Linked DNA regions of Homo sapiens: region 1 is linked to region 2. The links are contacts of gene promoters, found by promoter capture Hi-C in blood cells and fetal thymus (Javierre and others, 2016). All regions are on one chromosome and are shown on one strand. The core of a region is centred on a gene start or on the middle of the fragment in contact, and the rest is flanking DNA. Distances in the headings are between cores, read along the strand shown.

Evidence for each region. Contacts are between HindIII fragments. The CHiCAGO score rates a contact against its expected background, and 5 or more counts as called.
Region 1: a contact is called between a fragment that was not itself captured here and the fragment with the promoter of SRSF4 in region 2, in 2 of 17 cell types (naive CD4 T cells and total CD4 T cells). The highest score is 5.9, in naive CD4 T cells.

The regions. Positions count from the first base shown.
Region 1 is chr1:28,409,660-28,416,324 of GRCh38, forward strand. The region is part of intron 2 of PHACTR4 (phosphatase and actin regulator 4); the gene reads left to right. Among named protein-coding and RNA genes, the nearest start is that of PHACTR4, 43 kb to the left of the region's middle. RefSeq lists an enhancer at 305-364. The HindIII fragment of the contact is 1,580 bases long and covers 2,608-4,187 here.
Region 2 is chr1:29,177,526-29,184,483 of GRCh38, forward strand. SRSF4 (serine and arginine rich splicing factor 4) reads right to left here and starts at 4,375. Exons shown (of 6, transcript NM_005626.5): 1 at 4,121-4,375. The coding sequence starts at 4,227. It also overlaps a transcript of MECR not described here. RefSeq lists enhancers at 409-909, 4,428-5,065, 4,494-4,723, 5,066-5,703 and silencers at 3,974-4,163, 4,214-4,423. The HindIII fragment of the contact is 7,304 bases long and covers 1,214-6,958 here.

The DNA.
Region 1 (6,665 bases), core at 2,148-4,647, 770 kb before region 2:
TACTACTATATAATACTAACTGAGGTTAGGCTTTTTGGGCTACTAGTACTAGCAATCATCTGGCTCAGATTAAGAGCTTTTGTCTTGCTTTGAGAAGACTGCCCTTTATTACTTTGTAATATCAGAATTTTTCTGCTTTTAACGACCTTAGATAATTTCTTTAGGACCTTGGCTTTCTTTCCCCCCTGAAGAGTAGTTTTTAGGATTATGCCTAGTTCATCAATTAGATCCATCATCAATTAGATCCATCCTTAGTTTGAACACAAGAGGGCAGTCTGTACTTCTTCATAAATTTTTTTTTTTTTTTTTTTTTTTTTTTTTTTTTTGAGACAGAGTCTCGCTGTGTCCCCAGGCTGGAGTGCAGTGGGGTGATCTGGGCTCGCTGCAATCTCCGCCTCCCGAGTTCAAGCCATTCTCCTGCCTCAGCTTCCCGAGTAGCTGGGACTACAGGCACGTGCCACCACACCCAGCTCATTTTTTGTATTTTTAGTAGAGACAGGGTTTCACCATCTTGGCCAGGATGATCTCGAGCTCCTGACCTCATGATCTGCCCACCTTGGCCTCCCAAAGTGCTGGGATTACAGGCGTGAGCCACCGTGCCCAGCCACTTATTCCTAAAGTTTGTAGCTTCATTACCAGGTTAAATCTTGAAGAATTTGGTAAACTGAGTTTTATTATAGTAGTCTGGTGACAAATTCTAAAGAACATGACCATATGATAAACTAGAATAATACATGACAACTCCGTAGGTTTGTACTGGAAACCTAAGTTTTCATTCTGAGTGACCTCCTTGCTTCACTTAAGTAAACATAACCTAAATTTTAATATAATCTTATCAATCAAATTTATTATTAAACAATTAAATTAAACTGAAATTAACCTTAAATATAACTTAAATTTTCTAGGGAGTATCAACGTGAGAGTTGCTATAGAAGTTATAGTTGACCAGTAGTCAATTGAGGCATAAAGTGAAATGTGCTTTTGATTGTTTACTAAGATAGGTAGAAATTTGGGTTCTGTGCTAGTGAGATTATTTTTTTCTTTTTCTTTTCTTTTTTTTATTTGAGACGGAGTTTTGCTCTTGTCGCCAAGGCTGGAGTGCAATGGCACAGTCTCACTTCACTGCAACCTCCACCTCCCGGGTTCAAGTGATTCTCCTGCCTCAGCCTCCTGAGTAGCTGGGATTACCAGCACCTGCCACCATGCCCAGCTAATTTTTGTATTTTTAGTAGAGATGAGGTTTCACCATGTTGGCCAGGCTGGTCTTGAACTCCTGACCTCAGGTGATCCACCCGCCGTGGCCTCCCAAAGTGGCGGGAATTGCAGGCGTGAGCCACCATGCCCGGCTGAGATTATTTTTTATTTTTATTTTTTTGGTTTGTTTTTGTTTTTTGGGGGTTTTTTTGAGGTGGAGTCTTGCTCTGTCACCCAGGCTGGAGTACAATGGTGTGATCTCGGCTCACTGCAACCTCCGCCTCCTGGGTTCAAGCAATTCTCCTGCCTCAGCCTCCCAAGTAGCTGGGACTACAGGCACCTGCCACCACACCCAACTAATTTTTGTATTTTTAATAGAGACGGGATTTCGCCATATTGGCCAGGCTGGTCTTGAACTCCTGACCTCAGATGATCCACCTGCCTCGGCCTCCGAAAGTGTTTGGATTACAGGTGTGAGCCCGGCCTGAGATTATTTTTTTCTAAACACTTATTTAAATCTTGGAATTTGTAAATTAACATTCATTCAATCATAATATGGAGTTTATAGGAAAACAGAAATGACTCATATTTAACTACCATTCTCCTCTGTCTCCATTTTTCCTTCTAAATGTTATAATGATTTTTTTCTTAGTTGTTTACTATACATATACACACATATACATATGATAAGAATTTGGTGTACTCAGTGTCATTTGACAAAGAAAAGAATTGAGGATGTAAAATGAGTTTGTTTCTTTTGGTGGAGTGAGAATTTTGTTATAATCAAGTTAGCTAATAATTAAGTAGAAATATTGAAAAAGAGATAAAAGACTACACATTGGGTACAGTGTACACGGCTTGGATGATGGTTGCACCAGAATCTTAGAAATCACCACTAAAGAACGTATTCATGTAACCAAATACTACCCATTCCCCAAAACCTATTGAAGTAAAAAATGACATAAAAAAGGAAAAAAAGAAAACAGAAACCACCCAAAAGAAAGAAAGAAAGAACGAATGAACAAAAGAAAGAAAGAACGAATGAACAAAAGAAAGAAAGAAAGAGAAAGAAAGAAAGAATTATTTGTGGTATTCTGGAAATAAAAGTAGTGAGGGATTTTTACGAATAAAGTACCAGAAGGATAGACCTAAGGTCTCTAGGACCTTTTCTACCTGGACAGATGCTTACACATTTCATTATATAATATTTAAATATCATGTTCGTTAATATCACTATTGGTCTCGTTGAAAAAAATGTTAAATGTTGGGAAGCTGTCAAGCTCATTCTGGATGTAAATTTTCCAAAATAGGAATTTCACTTGAAAGCTTGAATTCTATCACTAGCAACAAATACTGTTAATTTTCTTTATTAGTGACAGGCTTACTTTTGAGAAAATGCCTGTCAGCTATCTAAGCTTGAATAACATAGCTTGTTGTTCAGTCTTTCAAGTAAAAATAGTATTCCATGAAGAAAACTGTCTAGTTCAGTTTGCAACTCAGTCACACAAATGCCTTTCCTGGAGATAACCATCATACTTAGTATACAAATGTGCTTTATACATATTTCTGTTTCATCATAAACAGTAATAAAAATATATGTACTAAAGGGTTGATATTTATTAAAACTAATATTTTTTATTGCTTTATCAAGGACATTCTTAAAGTTGAATTTATTTTTCACTGTAACTGTGTAGTTGTGAAGAATACAATGATTTCTGCTACAGTTTGGTGCTGTTGCCTTGATTTGTGTTAAGGTGCTAACAGTTTTGCTCACCATTGCTTTTGTACCATCAGTGCAAGTGTCAACACAGTGGAAAAGGCAAATAATTTTTTTGTATTCTTATGTATTTAGTTTTACCTCTTGGACTTCTGAAAGGATCTCAGGGATCCCCAGAGATCAGCAGATTATACTTGCTTCATTTTCCTGAGGTTCCTAGAGGCCCTTCTATGGAAGTCATGAGTAAAGTTAAGATTTAATCCTGGAGATTGTATTGGGCAGGGTTTCAGTGTGGACTAGGTCTTGGACATTTGACAGAAATATGGTCAGAGGGAGTGATTAGCTCTGTGGTTTCTCCTAAGCAGGAGTACCCTGCACCACTACCCCCGGGCCACAGGAGGTGAGCAGTGGGCCAGTGAGCATTACAGTCTGAGCTCCACCTCCTGTCAGATCAGTGATTAGGTGGAACAGTTTCATCCCAAACCACCCCAACACCCCCGTCTGTAGAAAAATTGTCTTCCATGAACCTGGTCCCTGGTGCCAAAAAGGTTGGGGACCGCTGGGTTAAAGAAACTTTTGTGGAGCGAAATGAGTCTGGAACTCATTAGGCAATCAAGTATGTTCAAAGAAGAAATCCATAAGCATTTAGTCAAGACAGGCTGAGGGCCAGGCTCACCTGGGTACTGTGTTCTTAGCTTTAAAAAGGATAAATAGCAGCAGAGATATTGGTGATGACAGCTTTCAATATATCTCTTGAGTCACATTGCTCCAGTCTGTGTACAGGTGGCCTTGCAGTCTGTAGAGGTGGTACGCAACTGTCATCCTGGGTTATCCAGTCTCCATTTTCCTGACAGCTTTGCTTCTTTCCTGTGTTAGCTCCTTTGTTTCCTAAACCCTCATGTCTTCCTCTGTCTTGGTTGCCAGTAGCTTTTTGATGTTGAACCTCCTGGAATAATTATCTAATTCATTTCTTTTTCCTTTAGATATGTTTCCTGCAAGATTTATTCAACTTTATCTTCTACTTTTATTAAATTTTTCTTTTCTACTATTAGAGTTTAATCTCCAGGAGGTCTTTTTGAAGTCTCTGCATGTTTCTTTTTATACTATCCTTTCATTCTTTCAACAGATTTTCCTTGCCCTGCATAGTCTCTTTTTTTCCTAACATTGTTTTTAAATATTGATTTGGTTTCTTTTATGTTAGAGTTTTTCTCTGATGTCTAGTAATAATTAACTGTCTGCTGATGGTTAAAAGTGAGGGACTAAATAGCCAGTTAGAAGCTTTAAATGTATAGGCAGGTTGCCTTTGGGTGAGCTTCTTGGCCTTATTGTTGATGAACATTCTCATATCAGTATCAGGGTCTAAGGGGCACAGTCTTCCCACTGTGTTTGGATGGTAAGGGGTGAAGAAAACTGACTGAAGAGACTGCTGCATTCAGCATTAATTATGCATATTTTCACTTAATTCTCTTCCATTTTTAATTTTACTTGTATTTGTATTTTATTTTACTTTATTTTTATCTTTTGAGATGGAGTCTTGCTCTGTCACCCAGGCTAGAGTGCAGTGGCGCCATCTCAGCTTACTGCAACCTCTGCCTCCTGGGTTCAAATGATTCTCCTGGCCTCAGCCTCCCGAGTAACTGGGATTACAAGCACCCATCACTGCCTGGCTAATTTTTGTAGTTTTAGGGTTTCACCATGTTGGCTAGGCTGGTCTCGAACTCCTGACCTCAGGTGATCCGCCTGCCTCGGCCTACCAAAGTGCTGAGATTACAGGCATGAGCCTCTGCAGCTGGCCTTATTTTCTTTTTCATTTTATTTTTTTATTTTTATTTTTTGGGGTCAGTCTTCCTCTGTCTCAAAAAAAAAAAAAAAAAAAAAAGCACCGCAGCCTCGACCTCCTGAGCTCAAACAATTCTCCCACCTCTGCCTCCCAAGTAGCTGGGACTATAGGCACATACCACCATGCCTGACTAATTTTTTTACTTTTTGTAAAGATGCAGTCTCCCTATGTTGCCCAGGCTGGTCTTGAACTCCTGGGCTCAAGTGATTCTCCCACCTCGGCCTCCCCAAAAGTTGAGATTACAGGCATGAGCCATTGCACCCAACCCCTTCCATTTTTTGTACCATATCCCTACCATCAGTTGCCTTTTGCGACCCCTTTCCAGAGACCATTTGCTTTACACTTTCTTGGAAAACAGATTCCAAAATTCCGCCAGAGTTAGTGTAGGACAGACATTGAAGATCATGGAGTAGGGAAAGTGATAGAGGAATCAAACAGCTTTTACCTTGCTTCTCCTGATTTTAGGTCACCTCCCTTTCATCTCATTTCAGAGACCTGGATAAAATACAATGAATGTATTACTTGTTAACCTATACTGGTGTATACTACCAGTTAAAAGAAAAAATTAGGCTGGGCGCGGTGGCTCACCCCCGTAATCCTAGCACTTTGGGAGGCCGAGGTGGACGGTTTGCCTGAGCTCAGGAATTCGAGACCAGCCTGGGCAACAAGGTGAAACCCCGCCTCTACTAAAATACAAAAAATTACCCAGGCATGATGGCGTGCTACTGTAGTCCCAGCTACTTGGGAGGCTGAGGCAGGAGAATTGCTTGAACCCGGGAGGCGGAGGTTGCAGTGAGCCAAGATCACGCCACTCCACGCCAGCCTGGGCAACAGAGCGAGACTCTGTCTCAAAAAAAAAAAAAAGAGAGAGAAAAGAAAGAAAAAAATTCATGGCTACACTGTACATAAGTGCTGAGTGAAGGAAGGATCCAGAGAGGATGTGCATAGAATTTGTGCTACCATGATGCTCCACACCCCACTACTTTCAAAAATAGCTAATTCGTGCTTCTGCTTTCTTCCTCCCTTTTCAACTGCTTATGGAGTTAACAGTCATTCTCCCAAGAGCATACCAGAACAAAAGGGACTGAAACCCTAGCATATCACTTATTTAAAAGTACTGAGTTGTGACTTCCTTCTAAAGATTTTTGAGGTGGAGGAGGATCTGCATACTAATTGCCTTCCCAAAATGTTTTAAATCATCTGAATACTTCATTAAGTTTCTATATACCCTCTCTTGTATAAATATGAACATGACTTGTTGAAAATACTTTTTTGGGTGTGTTTGGTGATTGTTTAATGAGATGTAGATTATCAGTTTGCATTCTGAATTTAAAGCTAGTTGCAAAGGCTTTATTCATATGCATGGCATTCTGGAAACAAATTTATAAGATAATACCTCCTTTTGATTAGAATTTGTATCATATAGGAAATAGGAGAAGTAGTTTGTTAAGGTAGCAAATAGAATTTATTATTTCCTAAACAAAGTCAATTATTTTTTTCTTATTCTGTATCTGAATTTATGAATTATTATGATGATGCTATAAAGGAGTTTTTTTCTAGCTGTTTAAGAACATTTGCCAAGGAGCCAAACTCAAGACATAATGCACTTCAAAGTTCATGGGAAAACATTTTTGATGTTATGTTGTTATCACTTGAAGCTCAAAATATGCCAGTAACATAGTCCTTCCCTCCCTCCTCTTTAAGAATGAAAGACAAAATACAAGCTTAATTAGTTTTGAGGTCCTCAGGGTGTAGGAGTTAAATTCCTCCAGTATTACATGATGCCAAAATTGATGCTAGTTCCATTTTTTCTCCTAGTGGTCTTGATGAGAAATTTAATATAGCATTATTATAAATATATATTAAATATCCTCTGTCATCTTATTTCCTGAAGGGGTATAAAGGTCAACATGT
Region 2 (6,958 bases), core at 3,125-5,624:
CCTGCCTTGGCCTCTCAAAGTGCCGGGGTTACAGGTGTGAGCCACCGTGCCAGGCCCTTGCAGTGACTCTTGAAGTTTATGGGGCGGGTAGAAAAGTAGGAGACCTTAATGGGAAATGGAATGGTCTATATGATCCTGGGAGATCTTCGTTGTATTTGTGGTCCCAAACCATCTTTCAAAAAGTTCTCTAGAACAGTGGCAATCTACATTAGCGATGCCTGGTGTAATAAAACGGTAGGCAATGAACTCTTGCTTACACACCTCTTCTCCAAACCCTCTCAGGGTCCATAGAATCCTTTCCTGAACACTAAATCTCCTTTGAAGAACTCATTTGTTTCCTTATTTGGTCATCTTCCTATTACACAAGATTTTTTTTTTTTTTTTTTTTTTTTGAGACAGAGTCTTGCTCTGTTGCCTAGGTTGGAGTGCAGTGATGCAATCTCTGCTCACTGCAACCTCCACCTCCCAGGTTCAAGCAATTCTCCTGCCTTAGCCTCTAGAGGAGCTGGGATTACAGGTGCCCACCACCACACCCAGCTAATCTTTGTATTTTTAGTAGAGATGGGGTTTCACCATGTTGGCCAGGCTGGTCTCAAACCCCTGACTTCAAGTGATCCACCTACCTCGGCCTCCCAAGGTGATGGGATTACAGGTGTGAGCCACCGTGACCGGTCTAGACAAGCATTTTATGCCTTAATTCTAAACTTAACTTACAACCCTTCAGCCTAACATATCTACTGATACATCTCACTTCTACAAATCTGAACTCCAGCAATTCTTCAAAGACCTATCTAAAGCATCCAAAATCTGTTTCTGAGTTTCAATTACTTTTTTTTTTGAGACAGAGTCTCGCTGTCGCCCAGGCTGGAGTGCAGTGGCACGATCTCGGCTCACTGCAAGCTCCACCTCCCAGGTTCACGCCATTCTCCTGCCTCAGCCTCTCGAGTAGCTGGGACTACAGGTGCCTGCCACCATGCCCGGCTACTTTTTTTTAATTTTTATTTTCATTTTTAGTAGAGACGGGGTTTCACCATCTTAACCAGGATGGTCTCGATCTCCTGACCTCGTCATCTGCCCGCCTCGGCCTCCCAAAGTGCTGGGATTACAGGCCACCGCGCCCGGCCTCTGAGTTTCAATTACTAATCACAATCTAGATATGTTCAAACATGCTTCCCAGTAGGGAGATCCACTGCCCTTCTGCTAGGGGACTATAAGCTTACATACGTAGCTAAGTTATGCTTTTTCTTTTGTACTCACTCCTTCCTTTCAGACTCTCCAGCGTTTTTGCCATACAGGCAATTTTTGCTTGAAATACATCTTTACCATTGGTCTTCTTCCCAGAAGTCGTTTTCCTCTGTAATGATTCCTCAATGATGCCAGGAGGTCATATTGTGTGCTGTTTGGTGACTGTCATACCTGTCTTTGAAACTCTAAAATGACTTCATTTCAACCTTGACTTTCAATGACATTTCATGCATATCATGGTTTGGCAGCATAACTGTAAGAATGAACAGTTCCTTAAAAAAACCACCCAGGTATTTAGGGTCCTGAAAGGCTCTTTCCTCTTATCGCTCCATCTTCCTTTTGGGTTGCTCACTTCTTCCTTCCAGAGCCTTTGAATTCCTACTCATTGATTTCGAATTTTTAGTGTAAAATCTAATAGTCGTTGTTTCTGGTTTATGTTGTTAAATTTCTAGATTCTTCATAAGGCTTGATCCATGCTAGATTGTTTATTATTTTTCATAATTGCTTCTTACTGGACCATGTCTTCAACACCAATTATGACATTAAAAAAATATTTTTTCCCTATTCATCAAAAAGCAAAAAAAGTCAGCATTGTACTTATTTTATTAGAGATGGGGGTCTTGCTGTTACCCAGACTGGAGTGCAGTGTCACAATCATAGCTCACTGTAGCCTTGAAATCCTAGGCTGAAGTGATCCTCCTGCCTCATCCTCTGAAGTAGCTAGGACTATAGGCGAGTGTCACCACGCGTGGCTAATTAAAAAAATTTTTTTCTTAGAGATGGGGTCAGGCTGGTCTCAAACTCCTGGCCTGAAGTAATCTTCACACTTCAGCTGGGATTGCAGGCACAAGTCACCATGCCTGAGCCCCAACTACGACATATACTATTCCCAGAAACCTAAATTTCTTCACTTCAAGCTCTAATCTATTCTTCAAAGCCATTTCAACACATCTTTTCAAGCAAATCATTCCAAGTTTTACTAGAGTTTAAAGCGAAAGCAAACATTTCTTAATTCAAAGTGCACATGTCATAATGCTTAATTTATTCAAGAGCAGAACTGTTTTCTGCCTCCTCCCCCAATTCATTTAGCACAGTGGTGGACATTTTGTTGATGGGTTATCAATACATTTGGTTGATGAATCAGTTTCCCATTAACAGTCTTGTCATTTCCTGCACACTATCACCTGAGTAACATTAGAAAAGACCTCACCAAACACGCTTTATGTTATCAAACACCAACAAGCAAAGATGTTTCCTCATCCCTCTGATTATAGCTGCCACTTACTGCCTAAGCCAAATGCTTTACATTTATTATCTCTAATCTTCCTTTTCCACATGAATGAACAACCAGGTTCAGAGAAGTAACTTGCCCATACGTAGTAAGTGGTGGAACCAGGATTTGACTTAGGCCTGGCTGGCTTCAAAATCCACACTTTGTCCACAAAAGTTAGTTATGCTGTCAATTTAGCTGGGCTCTGAAAAAAACTGGAGTTTCAACTTTCACATATATGGTATGTATACAATAACGTCTACCCGCCACTTCAATATATCCTTAAGAACTGAACGTTTTACTGTAGAAAAGGAGTAGTTTTTAAAGCCTTTTACTGTAAAAGAAATCAGTACTTTACTAAAGACGTCCTCAGAAAGAAAACGATTCTAATAATTAATTTGAAATGGCTTTTTAAACCCAAATCATCATTTGAGAATACGGTAGCTACCAGTTTTCTCATACGTGAAACATACTTAGGTAACTTTCAAAATGTTTCAGGTGTCAGTTACTAGTATAACCCTGGGGAGTAAACGGTAGCTATATTACAACTGTTGCAAAGTAGAGTTTCTTTTTTAAGCCAAGAGTTCTCTAACACCCAAGGTTTAGTGCCCTAAAATGTCACCCCAGTCCTTTTAATTTTATATCCATGCCTTCCAAGCCCTACCTAACATCTGGTTCCCAGTTTTCCCCGTTGAGTATTTTCTCCAGGCCTGATTCCTCAACAGTTTTCCCTAAAACCTGTAGCTCATGCTGGCACTATTTTTGCCGAAGTAGATTAAGAATACAAGTAATAGATCATACTCTGGGGGAGGCAGTAAGTTAACAATTTCGTCTCCGTCTGCGTTAACCAGACGCAGATACTAGCCAGGGTGGCCACTATTCTCCTAACAAATTCTACAACGGCCAAGCAATTTTTCGGTAAGTTGGAAAACGGAAACCACAGCGTGGAAACTCTGCACGGAGTCTTAAAGATAAGAAGTTAAGACTTTAATTTACTCTTGCAGAGGGAACGGTGAAGGCTTTCAGCACGGCAAGACGATACTTTCGAAACTGTCACTAGACTACTCAAACTGGAGTCTCCCGCCCAAAAAAGCGTGGCACACGGCTAAAAAGGGCCTCCCTCCAAGGCTCCAGTCCTCGGGGAAGACGGCGCTGTGACCGTCTGATCCATGAGACCGGGCAAGAGGTGAAAGGGAGCAGGAAATCCTGTTTATTTCCAGTAGTCCTCAGAGCGGGAAAGGTTGGTGTCTACCCAGAAACGAATAGGGCCCCAGTTCCGGGCCTAGGAAGGGAAAACCCAGGTCTCCCGGGCGCCCTGGAGCTGTGCCCCCCTGCCCGGAGCACCAGCCCCACTCGGGCTTTCCTTCTCCCCGTCCCACTCAGGGCCTCAGCACAGCTCCCATTATGCCTCCACCACCCCCACCCGCGCAGGCGCAGTGGGAACCGGGGCCTACCCGCGCCCCCGAGGCGCCGCCACTATGGCGGAGCCTGGCCAGGCCGGTAGCCGCTCCGCGCGGACCAGGCGTCCCTCTCCCGTCCCCGCGGCCTCCCCACCACCTATGGGGTCTGTCCCCGCCCGGCCGGACCCTCTTTCGCCCTCCTCACCCGTTCTTCAGATCCACCTCCAGGATCTTCCCGTAGCCCTTAAAGAAGCGCTCCACATCGCGCTCCCGGGCCTGGTAGCTCAGGCGGCCGATGTACACCCGCGGCATCCCGGCAACGGCAGTGATGGCTGGCCCCGGCCCCAGCCCCCCTTAGGCGGCGGCGGGCAAAGCGAGAGCACGGCGGCAGCGGCGGCGGCGGCAACGGGCGGGCGGCGGGACGGACGCAGCCGAACCCCGGCGACGTACGCGAGCACGCAGCTCGCGAGCGCGCGCTTCCACTTCCCCCGCCCTTCCCCGAGGCGGAAGGTAACCGGAGAGAGCGCGCGTTCGCTTCCCGCTCGGCCAGGACTGGGGGAGGAGCTTGCCCGGGGGCGCGCCGACGTGCGGCGGGGCAAGGTGATCGACAGGCGGCGCTGCGGCACGTCCTCGCGCGAGCTCGCCAAAGGGGTTCCTGCACCGCCTTCCGCAGCCAGCTGGCTTCGCCCCTCCCCCGGAAGTGTCCGCACCTCCTAGAGCCCAGCGAGCGAGCGTTTGTGCTTTTGTCCTTTGAACCGGGTGTGGTTTGGATTTCGGAGCTGGAGCTTTGGAATCAAACCTAGCTTCCAAACGATTGTGTACCCGTGACCTTGGGCTTGTTACGCGCGATGTCTCGGACCCTCCTTTATCTTTTCTGTAAAAGGGGGAGAGTAGTTCCTACCTTCCAGAGTTGTCTTGAGAATTATATGAGAATACGTACATAAAGCACTTAGTAGTTTTGTCATATCAAGTGCCCAATAAATGAGACCAGTATTATTTTTAAGAGGACACTGCTTAAATAGAAGCAGTGTGAGAAGCGGAGAAGGCTGGAGCTTTGGAGCTAGACTAGGCATGACGCCGAGTAAATTACTTGACCACAATCCAACCTATTTTTTTTTTTTTGAGACGAGTTTCGCTCGGTCGCCCAGGCTGGAGTGCAGTGGCGCGACCTCAGCTCACTGCAACCTCCGCCTCCCGGGTTCAAGCGATTCTCCTGCCTCAGCCTCCAGAGTAGCTGGGACTACAGGCGCCCGCCCCCACGCCCGGCTAATTTTTGTATTTTTAGGAGAGAGGAAGTTTCACCATATTGGCCAGGCAGGTCTCAAACTCCAGACCTCAGGTGATCCGCCCGCCTTGGCCTCCCAAAGTGCTGGGATTACAGGCGTGAGCCACTGCGCCTGGCCTATCCAGTCTATTTTCTAACCTGTAAAATTAGAATAATGTATACCCATCTCAAGGATTACACAGGTCACTAAATGGGGTAGTGTATGTGAAAGTACTTGGAACAGTGTCTGAAACATGGTAAGAGCTCAATAAATATTGGTTCCCTTCTCACTAACGCCATGTACCTAGAACCATAAAGGGTTTTGTTTCTTTGCTTGTTTTTGTTTTTTGAATATTTTGAAAGGATAACTCAAGGTTCAAATGATACACAGTGAAAAGTCTTCGCTGTCCACCAGCCACTTAGTTTCTCTTCCCAGAGGCAGTTTCTGAAATGTCCTTTAGGAGGTTAATTTACCCTTATAAAACAAATAGTAGGATACTATACATATGGTTCTACACAAAATATATTTTGAAAATCATTCCTTAAGAGTATAAAAGGACTAGTTTTATGGTTCATACCATTTTATACACAGTAATTTATTTAGCCAGTGCCCTGGTGAAGGACATTGAAATAAGTTCCAACCTTTTGTTATTACACTGCTGCAGTAACTTTGCATTTCTCTCTCTCTCTTTCTCTCTCTCTCTATATATATCATCTATTCCTAGAAATAGGATATTTGGGTCAGAGTTTTGATAAGTTATTGCTCAATTCCCCTTAAGTGGCTGTTTCCTCATATCCTCATCAACACCGTGTTATCAAACTTTTTGATCTTTGCCAATCTGAGAGGTGAAAAATGTTATCTCCAAGTGGTTTAATTTGCAAATATCATATTTTGCAGAGATATGAGTCTTTCTTCATATGTTTGAGATATATTTTCCTATTTCTGTCTGTGTATATCCTTTACCCATTTTTCTTATTCATAGGTGCTCACTATATATTAGGAAAATCAGCTCTTTGTCAAATGAGTTGCAAATATTTTTTCCATTTGTTGACTTTTGACTTTGCCAAGAGTGTTTTTTAGCCATGCAAAAACATTAGATATTTATGGGATCAATTTATCCATCCTTTATTTTTCTTTGATTCTGGATTTTATTTTTAAATTTTTATTTATTCTACTTTTTTTTTTTTTTTTTGAGACTGAGTCTCGCACTGTCGCCCAGGCTGCAGTGCAGCGGTGCGATCTCAGCTCACTGCAACCTACGCCTTCTGGGTTCAAGCGTTCTCCTTCCTCAGCCTCTAGAGTAGCTGGGATTACAGGCACCTGCCACCACGCCCGGCTAATTTTTTTGTATTTTAGTAGAGAAGGGGTTTCACTATGTTGGCCAGGCTGGTCTTGATCTCCTGACCTCGTGATCTGCCTGCCTCGGCCTCCCAGAGTGCTGGGACTACAGGCGTGAGCCACTGTACCCGGCTTTTTTTTTTTTTTTTTGAGATGGAGTCTTGGTCTGTTGCCCAAGATGGAGTGTAGTGGCACTATCTTGGCTCACTGCAGTCTCTGCCTCCAGGTTCAAGCAATTCTCCTGCCTCAGCCTCCCAAGTAGCTGGGATTACAGGCATGTGCCACCACGCCTGGCTAATTTTTTTGTATCTTTAATAGAGACTGGGTTTCACCATGTTGGCCAGGCTGGTCTCAAACTCCTGACCTCAGGTGAGGTGGCGTGAGCCACCGCGCCCGGCAAGAAATCTATTTTGAAAGTAATAATTAGTGGCTGGGTGCGG